Regions from separate parts of the Homo sapiens genome. Here region 1 is linked to region 2. Evidence: promoter capture Hi-C in 16 types of primary human blood cells and fetal thymus (Javierre and others, 2016). All regions are on one chromosome and are shown on one strand. Each heading gives the region's core, a stretch centred on a gene start or on the middle of the fragment in contact. The rest is flanking DNA. Distances are from core to core; before and after follow the strand shown.

Region 1 (2,743 bases), core at 184-2,683, 270 kb after region 2:
CTGCCGGCCCCGCCCGGCCCCCACTCGCCCATTGGTGACCCCACCCGGCCTGCCCCTGCCTAGGACGGCTGGTGTTGTCATGGCGACGGCAGCCTGGGGTGGGGGGGGGCTCTGACTTTGCATCTCCAGCCCCCTCCCCCTTCCCCCCTTCAGCTCCCCTTTTCCAAATCTCCATGTTCCCATGGCAACAGATTCTCCAAATATCTGTCCCCACCTGGAGCCGGCCGAGGGAGGGGCCCCCAGCACCACCTCCGCGGTGGCCCCACCATCAAAGCTCCCTCCCCACCACAGGCTGTGTCTCTGCCACACCCCCCGCCCCGGGCTCCCCCGCGCCTCTCTGGGGACCAGAGAACACGTGTGTCAAGCAGCCTCAGCTGTGGGGCCCCAGCCTCCACCCTCCTGAGGGTCCCAGGAGCCCCGGTCCCCAGCTCTTACCTTGACATTGCAGGCCCTGCTTTCCGATACCCCTGGAAGAGTCAGGGATCCTAGGTCAGTGCAGAAAGGGGTACCTGGACCCCCAACCTCTGCGAGCCACAGGGGGCCTGCGCTCTCTGACCCTCCTCCCGCAGGGCCCAGGTGTCCAAGCCCCGGCCACCTCCTCTTTCTAGAACCCAGAAATTTTGGCCCCCAGCCCTTCTTCCCTTAGACTGGAGTTCAGCCCCCAGTTTCTTCCTCCTTCAGACCCAGGAATCCAGGCTCCCAGCCCCCCAGGCCCTTCCTCCCTCAGACCCAAGACTCCAGGACCTCTGTCCTCCAGCCTCCTCCTCCCTCGGACCCAGCACTCCAGGAACCAGCCTCCTCCTCACTGAAACCCAGGAGTCGAAGCTCCCAGCGTTCCCTGGCCATCCTAGAACCTGGGAGTCGGGACTACAGCCCCCTCCTTCTTCCTTCCACAGGGGTCGGCGTGATAGGAGTCTGCACCCCTAGTCCCCTCGTCCCCCAGTCCCCCAGCCCCCTTCCCTCACCAGATGAAGTCGGTGCAGTGGCTGCAGAAGGTGGGCTGCTTGAAGAAGCGAGCGGTGAACTTGTGGCTCTTGACTTCGTGGACCACCTTCTGCCTCAGGGCCCCCTTTCTGCAAAACAGGGGCCGGGGTCCCCCCTCTGAATCGCCTACGCCGGGGCCCAGACCAGCCATGGCCCCAGAAACGTAGCAGGGACCAGGATCCTGCCTTTCTTGGGGGAAACAGGTGGAAGGGAGAGGAGCTGGAGACTCGAAGGATCAAAGGAGCCACAGGGAAATTCCGAGGTGGGCAGGAGAGGGGCAAGGCACCTCCAGGTGCGGAGCGCGCCAGGCAGGGAGCGGCACCCCGGGCGCGCCGGCTCCGCCAGGGGGAGCGGGCGAGTGGGGAGGAAGAGCCAAAGGCAGGGGCGCCGGCAGCCGGAGGCACGGGCGGCGGCGGTGGGAGCTCCAGCTCCGGCACCTGCTGAAATGTGGGAGCCCCGGGTTGGGGGAGGCGTTGCCAGGACGACCGAGAGGGCGGGGTTTCGGCTTAAAGGCGCTCCCCTCCCGGAGACACGGGACAAATGTCCTCCCTCCCCGCCCCCCACACGTGCACACACCCACTCCGGGGGCTGGCTGGAGGGAGGGGCATCCTCTGAGCCTGGCTCCCCCCCACCACCCTGCAATCTGTCATCCTGCCCCGCGTTCCTCCCCCACTAGGGTGCCTCGTGTGTCCTGTGGGCGCCCTGGGGTCCCTGTGTCTGACCCTGCCCCTCTCCTTCCTTCAACAAACTTTATGCTCCACGCTAGGGGTCCAGCAGTGGACAGGCAGGGCGCTAAGGTTCTCACTTTCTCCGATGCCGGCTGAGTCTTTATTTCCTCCCCTGGCCTCTCCATTATTTGTGTAGCTCTCTGCCTGCGTGTGTCTTTCTTGTGACCTCTGTCCCTCTCCCTCTATTCCTGGAGCGAGCTTTCTCGATGTGTCTCTGTTTCTGCCTCTCAGTGGATCTGTTTTCTTTTCCCTGTCTCCGAGAAATGCTGTTTCTATTTCTTTCTATTTCTCTATTTCCTCTGCTGTGTGTCTCCATCTGTATCTGTCGCCATCTCTGGGTCTTGGTGTCGTGGTTCTTCTCGGGGTCTTGGTCTGCCTCACTGTGAATCAGTCTCCCTCTGTCTCTCCCTCTACGTCTGATAAATTCTTCCGCCTCTGTCTCCCTGAGTTTGTTTCTTTCCCTGTCTTTGTCTCTCTGGCTCTGTGAATCTCTATTCTCTCTCAGGCTGTGACTCTGTCTCCCCCTCCCTCTGCAACTTGATCTCTTTGGGAGTCCGTCTCTGTCTTCCTCTCTGGGAGTCACTCTCTAAATGCTTGCCCCTGTCTCTCCCTCTCTCTCCTCACCTCCACCCGTCTTTATAAATGCCTTTGTCTCTGTCTCTCTCCCTTCCTCCGGTTCTGCAACTCCGTCTCTGTTTTTGTTTGTCTCTTCCTATATCTCTCTGGTTCCATCTGTTTCTCTGTACTTGTCCCTCTCTGGCTCTGTTGATCTCTCTCTCTCTCTCTGATGCTAGGGGGGTCTCTCTCCTGTCTATGACTCAGTCTCTCTCTCCCTCTTCTCTTCTCTGTCTCTGTCCCTTTCTCTCTGACCCAATCTCTCTCCCTCTTCTCTTCTCTGTCTCTGTCTCTGTCCCTTTCTCTCTGACCCAATCTCTATTTGTCTCTCTGGCTCTATGAATCTCTTTCTGTTTCTGGGGATCTCCCCGTCCCTCTGTGTCTGTGATTCACTCTCCCTGTGTCTCTGGCTCTCT
Region 2 (2,887 bases), core at 28-2,527:
CAGTGGCTGTGCATGGTGGCTCACGCCTGTAATCCCAGCACTTTGGGAGGCCAACGTGGGTGGATCACCTGAGGTCAGAAGTTCAAGACCAGCCTGGCCAAACATGGCAAAACCCCGTCTCTACTAAAAATACAAAAATTAGCTGGGCATGGTGGTGTGTGCCTGTAATCCCAGCTACTCGGGGGGCTGAGGTAGGAGGATTGCTTGAACCTGGGAAGCAGAGGTTGCAGTGAGCCGAGATCGTGCCACTGCACTCGAGTCTGGGCAACAGAGCGAGACTCCATCTCAAAAAAAAGAGGTACATCAGCTCTTGTCATTTATCTGCTGTCTCTGGACTTGCTGACCCCACCCATCGCTCCTCTGCTTTGCTTGATCCCTTCAGGCTTCTCTTCAAGTCTCTCTGCAAAGATGCCTGCCTCTGAACACTCAAGTGGCTCCACTTGTCCCCTCCTTCCCCTGCTGTTACTGTACCTGCTACTGTCCCCCCAGGGGGAGCTTTGCCTCTGTTTGTCTTCCATCCCCAGCACCTGGTCCAACTGGTTCATAACAAGCCTTAGATACCTGTTCGCTTAGATACCTGTGTCAGGGAGACACACCTGACACCTTGAAAGATTATATCACATCTCTTGTATTTCCTGGCCCCCTCAGGAGAGGCAAGAGAAAGCTCTGGGCATCCTGACATACCTGGGCCAGAGTGCAGCGGAGGCACAGACTCAACCCCCTTGGTACCAGCTACCCCCAGGGCGAGGGGGCCCCCCGCCCGGCCCAGCCCCAGATGAGAAGATCAAGAGCCGTCTGGACCCTCTGCGGGAGATGCAGAAGCATCTGGGGAAGAAGAGACAGCACGGCGGTGATGAAGGCAGTCGCAGCAGAAAGGAAAAGGAGGGGTCTGAGAAGCAGCGACCCAAGGAGTAAGAAGACCCCACCTCGGCAGACCAGGGCCCAGACCTTCAGGGCTTGGCAGCAGCCCAGCATGGGCACTGCAGCGTCTCTGGTCAGGACAGCCAGGGACTCCGTGAAGGGCTGGCTAGGTGGAGAAGTGGTTCTCAGCATGTGGTCCAGGGAGCCCTAGGGGTCCTGACACCCTTTCCCGGGGTGCTGTGGTGTCAAGCCTATTTTCCTGACACTGGTGGACTTTTCCACTCGTGTTCTCAGGCATGTAGTGCAGGTTTCCAGAGGCTGTGTGATGGGGAGACACCCTCACTCTGATGGCCAATGGCAGATGCTTGTGTCCAAACTTTCTTAGTTTTCACTAATGATTTGCAGCATATTAAGAGAACCCATTTAAACAAAAGCTCTTGGGGTCCTTGGTTTTTAAGAGTATAAAGGGGTCCTGAGACCAAAGAGTTTGAGAGCTGCTGGGTTAGAGAGTAAAAGCAGGCTTCTGTCTCCAGGATGCTGCACCCCTGGTCTAGAGGGGGTACACTGCCTGTAGTCTTCTTTCCTCTAGAAAGGGAAACTGAGGGCCAGGGGGCTGCTAAGTGTGCTTTCTTGACCTGGAGAAGCATCAGATTTTAAAGACTGGGGAGGACCAAAGCCCACAGAAGGGAAGGCCAGAGACGTGCCCATGGCGTCCCAGCACCAAGTGGCTGCTTCCAGCAGGCCTAAGGAGCTGAGGCTGGGGTGTGCTGGATGCAGCGGGGCTTCCAGGCGGCAGCTCCCTCTATGGGAGAGGTTGGGGGAATGGCCTCCTAGGGGCTACCAGCTTTCTGACCTCACTCCTCTCCCCACAGGCCTCCATCCCTGGACCAGCTTCGAGCTGAACGTCTGCGGAGGGAAGCAGCTGAGAGGTCTCGGGCAGAGGCCCTGCTGGCCCGGGTCCAAGGCCGGGCACTACAGGAGGGTCAGCCGGAAGAAGACGAGACGGATGACCGGCGGCGGCGGTACAACTCCCAATTCAACCCCCAGCTGGCCCGGCGCCCCCGCCAGCAGGACCCTCACCTTACTCACTGACTCCTGAGGGGGTACAGGAGAGGCCGCTGCTGCCAGCCGTCATATAAAACTATTTATTCATAAATATTTTCCAAAATGAAAATAGGTTTACCAAAAAATGTCCCTCACTGGGGAGGGGAGGAGGGGGCAGCCCTCGCCCCCGGGCCCCCAGGGTGGGGCTGAGAGGAAAACCTCCCGGCCCCCTCCCTGCTTCCTGGGAGAGGGGGATGCCCCGTGGCTTGGGGCCTCCCTCCAGTCTTCCAGGGCAGGGCCCTCACCTGGGCAGGGGGATCAGCATGCGGGGGAAGGGGGTGGGTAGAGGGAGGGGCCGGTGTCACTGGAGGTCCCGGTCCTCCAGGTAGCGGTACTCAAAGGTGAAGCCTTCCTTCTTCCGCTGGCCCCACTTCTCGTAGTCAAAGTAGATGTAGGTGCCCTGGCCGGGGGAGAAGGCGGTCAGTGAGTGGACGAGGAGGTGGTCTGGGATCTGGGCCGGACCAACAGACAAAGGGGACAATTCTTAGGGCTGTGGATGTGTCAGGCACCGGGCCAGCTGCCCTGCACGCACACACTCTCATCCATCCTCACAAGGTTCTTCTTGGGTAGGAAATGTTATCATGCCACTTCAGCGAGGAGGAAACGGAGGGGGCCGCAGAGGTTCCACCGAAGCCAGCTGCCAGAACGGGGCCCCAGCCCCAGGTGTGAGTGCACAGCCTTCGTTTCCTCGAGGGCTGTGGCTTTTGAGCACCTCTCACGTGAGTACAGGATGCACAGCCTAGCATTTAATCTTCACAAAGACCTCGAGGCAGTGGGTACTGTCACCCTTGTTCTAGAGAATGGAACAGTCTCAGAGTCTAAATCCAAGCACTCTGCAGGGACATTTTATTGGTGACGAAGTGGTGTGGGAATTTCTGAATGACTGGATGCCCTGAAATGTACTAACTTGGAGGATGGTTTT

The links. Contacts are between HindIII fragments. The CHiCAGO score rates a contact against its expected background, and 5 or more counts as called.
Region 1: a contact is called between the fragment with the promoter of PRKCG here and a fragment that was not itself captured in region 2, in 1 of 17 cell types (fetal thymus). The highest score is 5.1, in fetal thymus.

The regions. Positions count from the first base shown.
Region 1 is chr19:53,880,887-53,883,629 of GRCh38, reverse strand. PRKCG (protein kinase C gamma) reads right to left here and starts at 1,433. Exons shown (of 18, transcript NM_002739.5): 1 at 966-1,433; 2 at 436-467. The coding sequence starts at 1,135. RefSeq lists an enhancer at 430-981. The HindIII fragment of the contact is 17,886 bases long and covers 1-2,743 here.
Region 2 is chr19:54,154,787-54,157,673 of GRCh38, reverse strand. It overlaps CNOT3 (CCR4-NOT transcription complex subunit 3), which reads right to left. Exons shown (of 18, transcript NM_014516.4): 18 at 1,993-2,365. The coding sequence ends at 2,267. LENG1 (leukocyte receptor cluster member 1) reads left to right here. Exons shown (of 4, transcript NM_024316.3): 3 at 649-911; 4 at 1,734-2,513. The coding sequence ends at 1,953. Among named protein-coding and RNA genes, the nearest start is that of LENG1, 3.5 kb to the left of the region's middle. The HindIII fragment of the contact is 5,805 bases long and covers 1-2,887 here.